Linked DNA regions of Homo sapiens: region 2 is linked to region 1. Evidence: promoter capture Hi-C in human tissues and cell types (Jung and others, 2019). All regions are on one chromosome and are shown on one strand. Each heading gives the region's core, a stretch centred on a gene start or on the middle of the fragment in contact. The rest is flanking DNA. Distances are from core to core; before and after follow the strand shown. Region 1 holds the start of NKX3-2 (NK3 homeobox 2). Region 2 overlaps LOC124900669 (a long non-coding RNA gene).

The links. The method cuts DNA at HindIII sites, captures the fragments that hold promoters and counts their contacts. A contact is called where the count stands out against the background at its distance.
Region 2: a fragment that was not itself captured here is called in contact with the fragment with the promoter of NKX3-2 in region 1 in 1 of the 25 tissues and cell types used here (dorsolateral prefrontal cortex).

Annotation. Positions count from the first base shown.
Region 1 is chr4:13,542,018-13,546,607 of GRCh38, reverse strand. NKX3-2 (NK3 homeobox 2) reads left to right here and starts at 2,100. Exons shown (of 2, transcript NM_001189.4): 1 at 2,100-2,659; 2 at 4,080-4,590. The coding sequence starts at 2,194. LINC01096 (long intergenic non-protein coding RNA 1096) reads left to right here. Exons shown (of 1, transcript NR_015450.1): 1 at 1-532. RefSeq lists a silencer at 4,175-4,304. The HindIII fragment of the contact is 14,287 bases long and covers 1-4,590 here.
Region 2 is chr4:13,498,826-13,503,415 of GRCh38, reverse strand. All of the region lies in intron 1 of LOC124900669 (a long non-coding RNA gene), which reads right to left. Among named protein-coding and RNA genes, the nearest start is that of RAB28, 17 kb to the right of the region's middle. The HindIII fragment of the contact is 4,032 bases long and covers 11-4,042 here.

The DNA of each region.
Region 1 (4,590 bases), core at 851-3,350:
ACCAAACCCATACCTGCCCGTCCCCTACCTTCCAGGCAACCAGTGTCAATCTCCTCACTATACATAATTCCCAACATCCCTGCCCGAAGTGAGGAGAACGGTAATTTAAATAATACAGCGGGGGAGGAGAGGACACACTGTTTTTGAAAGACTGTAAGCATTCTGCTGTTCCACTCTGCGTCCTTACACTTGCTGAGCACTGACACCAAATTTAAATGGCGTTCCTTCAAAACTGATGTAATTGTAAAGAGCTGTAAAGGGCAATGACCTCAAGTGGATGTTTTTTCCCAGGTACCCTACAAGGTTTGCACAAAGCAAGAAAGCATCATGTAACCGAAATGCTGAAAAGTATAGATGCTGCAAAACCTCATTCTGAGACTGAGAACTATGAATAGTCAGTGTATTTCCTTCTGCGGTGCAGAAAAAGAACAACCAAAAAGAAAGCAACAAGGGGAGATGTTATTTATTTTAATGACACCAAAACTACCAATCCTAGCAATTTAATAAATTAAAATCATAGTCCTTTAAATGTATTTAATGGTTCAAGTTTGTGTATTTGGTGTTAACTCTCTGGTAAAGTTTATGGAAAACAGTGAAGTACGTTAATTGAGCAAATTTTATATTAAAAAAGGAATAACACATTTTAAAATGTTTTTATATACCCACAATATTTGTGTTTCTTAGCTTGGTTCCTACTATTACATAATACAATGCATTTCTTATTTTTTAAAGAGCAAAAAGTGTTGTCACTTCTGGATCACTTTATGGTAATTCCTAGGTATACTTCTAAGCAAACAAACATATCTATTTATAATTTTATTCAACTCACAAGTAAGAGATATTTAAAAAAAACAAATTGAAAGTTTTTTTTTTCTTCCTGATGCAAAACTTAACAAACTCCAATTAAATTCAATATTGGTCTGCCAGGGAAACGACCATAAAATTTACAGAAATTCTCCCAAAGATGCCTTTCAATTCTTCTCCTGACTTTAGTTCTAACTATACCATTTTTTTATAATTCCTCTATAAAAATCGAATCAAATCAAAGACGACGAGGAAAGAAAAATATTTCTAGAGTGATCTTAATTAACTGATCATTTCAGCAAAGAGCATTAGCAATGAAGAAGCGGCGAAACTGTAGGGAGAAAAAAAAGGATGCATTTTGTTCTTCGTGTTTATAATCCTTCCTAGAGAACAGAAACTACGAGCATGATTTATGGAACTGCATTATCTTGGATTTTCTCCGCAGATTTGACTCAACTTAGTATCAGTGTTCTGTTAAAGCGCTGGAATAAGTGGATACATCTGCAGAGGTAAGAAACGTGGTTTGGGTCGGATGAGCCTCCTTGTTGCTGGAGGGTGCTTCGAGGACCAGGCTTAGGAGAGAAGGGGTTAAGTCAGACCCTGTCTTTAGCGGCGCAACGTGCCCAGTTTTGTCTGTTAAAGTCAACGTCGCCCAACTGGAGCCAGCCAATGGACGGCCGGGAGCGCCCGGGACAGCCCAGTGGAGGGGTGTGGCCTCAGGCTGTCACTCAGCAGTGAGGAATGACACCCGGGCGGGAGGGGGGTGGTACAGTGGAACGCAAGGGAAGGAAAGAGAAAAGAAACAGATAAAACCAGGGCAGGGGGTAAAAAAGTTCCCCGCGCCTCTCGGAATCCAGCGGCCGCGGCCGCGGCTACCGCCGCCGCCGCCGGGGGTGGGCTCCGGAAGAGCCTGCCCAGCAGGGAAGGGGAGGACGGGCCAGGAGCGAAATCCTGCAGGCGAGGAAGGGACAGACGCGCAAAGAAAAAGTGACTCGGGCTGTGCGCCCCGGCGGCGCTCGGGAGGGGACTGCTGCCACGGAGGGGCCCCCGCCAATCCTCCTTCACGTCCCCCGAGGGGGCAGACCCCAGCCCGCCCCTAAGGGCGAGAAGCGATGAGATAATCCAGCTGAGCTGCGAAAGGAGAGCGTCTGGCTCTGGATTCGGGGGGAGGGGGTCTCCGGGCGGGGTGGGCCTCTAAGGTGGGGGCGAGGGTCGGCGCTGATCCTGGGACGGAGTGGGGCGGGAGCTGCTGGGCCGCGCAGCAGTGGGCGGCGGCGGCCTCGCACACCCAGCTCACTCGCGCTGCGGCCGCCGGCGCTCTCTGTCCCGCTCGGAGCTGCTCGGCGCCCCAGCTGCCCGCCCCGCCGGCCGCTCCTGCCCGCGGCGCAGATGGCTGTGCGCGGCGCCAACACCTTGACGTCCTTCTCCATCCAGGCGATCCTCAACAAGAAAGAGGAGCGCGGCGGGCTGGCCGCGCCAGAGGGGCGCCCGGCGCCCGGGGGCACAGCGGCATCGGTGGCCGCGGCTCCCGCTGTCTGCTGTTGGCGGCTCTTTGGGGAGAGGGACGCGGGCGCGTTGGGGGGCGCCGAGGACTCTCTGCTGGCGTCTCCTGCCGGTACCAGAACAGCTGCGGGGCGGACTGCGGAGAGCCCGGAAGGCTGGGACTCGGACTCCGCGCTCAGCGAGGAGAACGAGAGCAGGCGGCGCTGCGCGGACGCGCGGGGGGCCAGCGGGGCCGGCCTTGCGGGGGGATCCTTGAGCCTCGGCCAGCCGGTCTGTGAGCTGGCCGCTTCCAAAGACCTAGAGGAGGAAGCCGCGGGCCGGAGCGACAGCGAGATGTCCGCCAGCGTCTCAGGTCTGCTGCGGCTTCGCGGGGATGGGGGCCGGGCTGAGGGGATGGACGCGGAGGGCAACCACGCCGAGTGGGGTGGTCGGCTTGAGCACCCTGCGCCCTGGGGCTCGGAGGCTGGCCAAATCCCGAAGTTCTGCGCTCTGGCGCGAGCTGCTCTATCACTTCGGGAACTGAGCCCGCGAGAGACCGGAGTAGCTCCTCAGAGCCCTACGTCCTGGGGTGAGGCCTGAGACATCCTGGGCCAATGTGCATTAGACTGGGTTGGGAGAACCGCTGCCCCTTGCGTTCGGGAGTTTTTGAGTTCGTCGCCAGTGCTTTCTGCCGTGTCTGTCCCCAAATCCCCAAAATCAGGGAAGCGGAAAAGTGAGGGGTTCAGAGACCTCAGGTAGCCAGTGACCTAGCTCTGGACCAGAGACCTGCCAGTTCAAGGTCCCAGGGCCGGGCCCCACAGTAGGTGGATAGGTGGTGAAGAACACCTCCGAGTGGGCCAGAGCTGAGAATCTGCAGAACTAGAGCTTTGGGGAAAGGGCTGGTTTGGCTTTCTCAGACCCCAGGTCTGGGAGAGCAGCCCTAGGCCGAAGATCCCGGATTGGGTCTTTAGTTCATCCTGGAGGCAGGAGAGAGGCCTCCTCAGCCGTGGCCTGTCCTGTCCTGTGGTCTGGAAGACCCGGGTGCCTGCCCTAGTTGGGTACAAGCTTCTGTAGGCCTCAAGCACAGGGGACCGCTGGACCTTTCTGCTGGAGTTCTTCGGAAGGGCGGGTACGAGACCGAGAAGCTGGTGTGGGATCAGGGTCCAAAAACTCGATGCAGGGGCAACCCTCCCTCTTTACTCTCCAGTCCATCCTCTCATCTAAGGCCTCGGCTCAGCCTGTTTCCATGTCTCTCACAGCAATCCCAGGCGGCTGAGGGTGAAAGATTCTAAATACCTTTGGCCCCAGGATCCGCCTCCACCTTCCCTTACCTGCACCAGACAAGTGTGTGCTGCGAGGACGCGCGCGTGTGTGCGTGTGAACTAAGTGTGGAGAGGCGCGTGAACCCAAGCAGAGAGACGGAAATGCAGTCTAGAATCCCAATGCTCAACGCTGAGAGCCGGGAGGGCTTTCGCGGATGCTCGGGTCGAGTGCCCCAAGTTACTGAGGGGAGCCTGGGGCCCAGAGAGGGTGGGGAGCTGGTCTCGACAACACAGCGTTGACACAGCGGCTGAGTCTGCCGCCCTCCCCAGAAGAGGCCTAGATGGGATACCCAGTGGGGCAAGAGTCTAAGACTGGTCTCCCGGGCCCAGGGCCTCCCAGACCTCCGCTCCGCTTGAGTGGGATCAAAGTGTATTTCCGCCCCACTCCCGTGACCCCTGCAGTTGAGGCCCGGCCTCACCTCGTCTGTGGCGCTGACAGTCTCTTGTTTCTGTTCCCACCGGGGTCCGCAGGCGACCGCAGCCCAAGGACCGAGGACGACGGTGTTGGCCCCAGAGGTGCACACGTGTCCGCGCTGTGCAGCGGGGCCGGCGGCGGGGGCGGCAGCGGGCCGGCAGGCGTCGCGGAGGAGGAGGAGGAGCCGGCGGCGCCCAAGCCACGCAAGAAGCGCTCGCGGGCCGCTTTCTCCCACGCGCAGGTCTTCGAGCTGGAGCGCCGCTTTAACCACCAGCGCTACCTGTCCGGGCCCGAGCGCGCAGACCTGGCCGCGTCGCTGAAGCTCACCGAGACGCAGGTGAAAATCTGGTTCCAGAACCGTCGCTACAAGACAAAGCGCCGGCAGATGGCAGCCGACCTGCTGGCCTCGGCGCCCGCCGCCAAGAAGGTGGCCGTAAAGGTGCTGGTGCGCGACGACCAGAGACAATACCTGCCCGGCGAAGTGCTGCGGCCACCCTCGCTTCTGCCACTGCAGCCCTCCTACTATTACCCGTACTACTGCCTCCCAGGCTGGGCGCTCTCCACCTG
Region 2 (4,590 bases), core at 777-3,276, 43 kb after region 1:
TTTTTCCCTATAGATATCCATTAGTCCAAGTACCGTTTACTAAATACTTAATCCTTTCCTCACTGAATTGAAATACTAAATTATCATGTATGTCTGAGTCTTTCTGGGTTTCTACTCTGTTCTACTGATGCCTTTACCTCTATACTGTCTGCAGGCCGTCTTCTTCTTTTTCAAAATTATTTGACAACCAAAATTTGGGATCATTTTTTTCAGTACCACATTAAAACAAGATTACAATCTCAATTGCAATTGAATTTATGTGACTTTATATAGAATTGGGACTATTTCACCATAATAAATTTTTTTTTTTTTTTTTGTGACAAGGTCTTGCCCTGTTGCTTGGGCTAGAGAGCAGTGGTGCAATCACAGTTCACTTCAATCTCTAACTCTTGGGTTCAAATGATCCTCCTGCCTCAGCCTCCCAAGTAGCTGGGACTACAGGCATGTGCCACCATGCCCAGCTATGTCCACAATGTTTTTGAACATCTTTTGTTTCTCATTACCTTACAGTTTTTGTGTTTGTGAATGATACCGTTTTTCTTTATACTTTCTGGTTGCTTTCGCTGGTGTAGCTGGTGTTTAGAAATATCACTAATTTTTGTATGTTGATCTTGTATCCAGCAAGCTTAATGAACTCTTTTTAGGTCTATGAGTTTATTAAGAGATTTGCTTGTCTTTTCTATCATGGTGATCATATCATCACAGAGACAGTGTTGTCTTTTCCTTTGCAACGTTTCTTCCCTATATGGTGGTGAATACAGAAGATAATAGCAAGCAAACTTGCTTATTTATTCCCAATTTAGAAATGCTTCAAAAGTTTTCCCATTTAGCGTGATGTTTACAGAGGCTTTTGCGAGTTATTTTTAAAAATCAGATTAAGGAAGTTTCCTTCTATTCTTCATTTTCAAGAAGTTATTATTTTTTAAAATCATGAGTGAATACAGACTTTTGTTGAATGCACTTTAGGTCTCTGTAATTTTTTTTAATGAATAGATAGAATTTATTTCAGAAATTATTAACTCAATGTACTAAACAACATTAATAGGAAAAATCCTCACTAAAAAAGTTTGATAACATTTAGTATTTATTTAGAATTAGGATTAGAAAGAAAATGTTTTAATGTTGAAAACCTTCCCTCCGACAGTGAGATGATACAAGGATGCCCAACATTTATACAGCACTGTTCTATAGTTATTATTGGTCCCTGTAATATTGAGTTAAATTCATTTGTCTTTTCAAGAAGACCTGAAGTCATTTGCACCCATAGTTTCAGTTTTATTTATTGCTTTTTTTTTTTTTTTTTGAGACTGAGTTTTGCTCTGTCGCCCAGGCTGGAGTGAAGTGGCGTAATCTCAGCTCACTGCAACCTCCATCTCCCGGGTTCAAGCAATTCTCCCACCTCAGCCTCCAGAGTAGCTGGGATTACAGGTGCCCACCACCACGCCCGGCTAATTTTTGTGAAATTAGTAGAGACAGGGTTTCACTATGCTGGCCAGGCTGGTCTTGAACTCTTGACCTCAGGCAATCAACCCACCTCAGCCTCCCAAAGTGCTGGGATTACAGGCGTGAGCCACCGCGCCCGGATATTTACTGCTTTAATCTTCTGATTCACTATGATTTGCATCTTGAATTGTTTTTATACTTTCTCTATTTAATATTACATGTTCATAGTAGAGGAGATTGCCTCAAATTAAAAGCTTCTATAAGCTTTTAACTAAAAATCTGATAGGCGTATTGTGTTGAATTAGGACCCAACCCCACAAAGATATACTCATGTTCTAACCTCTGGAACCTATAATGTGATCTTATTTGAAAATGCGTCTTTGCAGAAGTGATTCAGTTAAGAATCTCAAGATAAGATCATCCTATATTATCTAGGTGGGCTGTAAATCCAACAAGTGTCCTTCCAAGAGACACACAAAGGAAGAACATAGGGCAGATGGAGGAGAAGGTCAAGTGCAGATGGAGACAGAGACTGGAATGATGTAGCCACAAGCCAAGGGGTGCTTTCCCCTGGAGCCTTCGACAGCTTGATTTGGGACTTACTACCTCCAGAACTGTAAGAGAATTGATTTCTGTTGTTTTAAGCCACTCAATTTGTGGTAATTTGTTGTGGCAGCCTTACGAAAGCCTAGTGAAGTTGGCATTCTTTATTCTGATTATTGATTCTTTTTCTATTTTACATGTTGTAAACCTCTTCTATAGTCTGTCATCCTTTAACTTTGCATAGGGGTGATTGTCATCTCTTTTCATACAATAAGAGTCTCATTGCCTTCTAAAACATCTCTTTTTTTTTCTGGAATGATTTGAATTCTTTTTCTGAAATTAAGGTAAAGGAGGACACATAGTGATCTCATGGAAGGGTATGTTTAGTTAGAAATACTTAAAGTAGAGAAGTTAACATCGTCTCCGCATAAACACAAATCAACTTCATATTTGACCTAACATTATTGACAGTATTAAATGAGGAAGGACTGAGCCCATTGACGTGGAACACGAACAGGACATTTTTATTATCCTAGCAGAATCAGGGAGGGAAAATAAGTCTGTAAGATTTATGGAAAGGTATCTGAAAATCTATACAATCAGGCAGTCCTCAGGTGAAAAATTCTGTATATGTTCCTCTGTGTGTTTTAAAGAGCCGTTTCATTTCTAATATTTAAGATGTGACTTTTCCTAACTCTTAGTATGATATATAACTTGGTATTTATAAATATTTTCCTTTATACCTTTTACCTGCGAAATCTCAAATAATGTGGCTCCACTGTTAATAGATAACTATTTAGTAACTGAAAAATTAAGTATATTATCGAATAAATAGAAAATCATTTTCAAGCTTTCTAGGATGGGTTTTAAATTGCCAGTACACTCTGAAGGCATGAATCTCCCCTGCGTGGGTCACCAGTCAAGGACCTGCACGTGCATTCACATCATTAAGTATTTTTCTCATTAACTAAGAAGAATATTGATCTTTGGGTGAGGGCTTTGGAGAGGAGAAGCAGGAGTCTTGTAGCTTACTGTGTCATACAGTGGAGCTCTGAGATAGGTATTTTTCCCTTCAGTACTTCAGCCATGACCTGAACTACTGGAGTTCAGCTTCAACATAATTGCAGCACAGCAAGGAGTCCCTTCTGGAAACCAGCTGCTTGATCAGGGATTCATTTATCAGGGGGATTATGACTCCAAACATTTTTCTAGACTGTTGTGGCCATTTAAAGGGGGAAAAAAAGAGGAGTCTGGGGAACTAATTAGGAAGGAGTGGCTCCCCTCAGAGTCTTGACCTTAACCCTACTGAGAAAGTATGGGATTTACTTTACCTAAGTAAGGAAAGAACATAAATAGTTGGCAAAAATGCTTTGTGGTATGACTTCCAGCAAGTAATGAATTGGCCTGATACAGAGAGAAACATACACACACACATACACACACGTGCATGCACGTACACACCTATAAGAAAAACAACAAATGCTTTAAAATTGCAATTAAATGTATCATTATGACATATGTTATTATTTTGTATTTTCCTGGTTACAAGAAAAATAGATTAATTTATGATTAGCATATAGAGGATTTAATCTGTGACTAGCATATACAGGATATAACCTAAAAACTTTTTTTTCACATTTTGGTAGGTTATGGAATGTTAATACAATGAATTCAGGTGTCACTTTCTATTATTCTGCTTAGAATATTGTGTTTTGCTTATGTGCATTTAATGTCTTTCATTAATTCTAGAAAATCCTTAGTCTTTACATTTCAGCATATTACCTCTTCCATATCCTTTCTCTCTTCTCTTTCTTCAACTGTAGTTACATGTTACACCTTCCCAGGTTATTCTCCATGTTTTTCAATGTCTCTCCCATTTTTAAAAAATATCCTGATACATCTGTGGTACATTCTGGGTAATTTCATCATATTTATTTTCCAGTTACTGAGCTGTTTCAAATCTACTACTTAATCCAGTCACTAAGATTTTAATTTCAATGATTATAATTTTCATTTCTAAAAGTTTCATTTAAAACAGCAACAGAGGTTTAGTTTGAAAAAGTTTTTGGTTTAGTGTTGAGAAGAACTTAGAGCTTGTATACAGTTTGCAGAATTGCAAAAACTTCAGAAACTTGGCTTTTATTGACAGCATTGTGCTGTCCTCTCCCTTGCATTTCTTTAAAATACTAGTATTTTGATCTTCATAATACCCTTGTGAAGTGTTTACTCTTACTTCTATTTTATGGGTAACAAAACTGAGGCTAAGAAGCCTACCCAAGGCCTATAAATTAGTAATAAGTAGAGCTGAAATTAAATTCATGTTTTATTTCTCTCCTTATAGCCATATTTTTTCTTATTTAAGTATATATTGTTAAATAGTTGTCATGAATATACCATGGAGTAGTGGAGGGTCAAGTAACTAGGGAAAGATGTGCTAAATCCATTATATAAAAATTAAGATTTTTTTTTGGAAAAAGCTAAGTAGGCTTAGCCCAGGATAACTCAAAATTTTATTTCAGTTTCAAAGTAATTTCTTTTTCCTACTTATTTTGTTCATGTCTATGAATTTCCTCACTTCTTGCTTTATTTTTTCTATATTTGTAT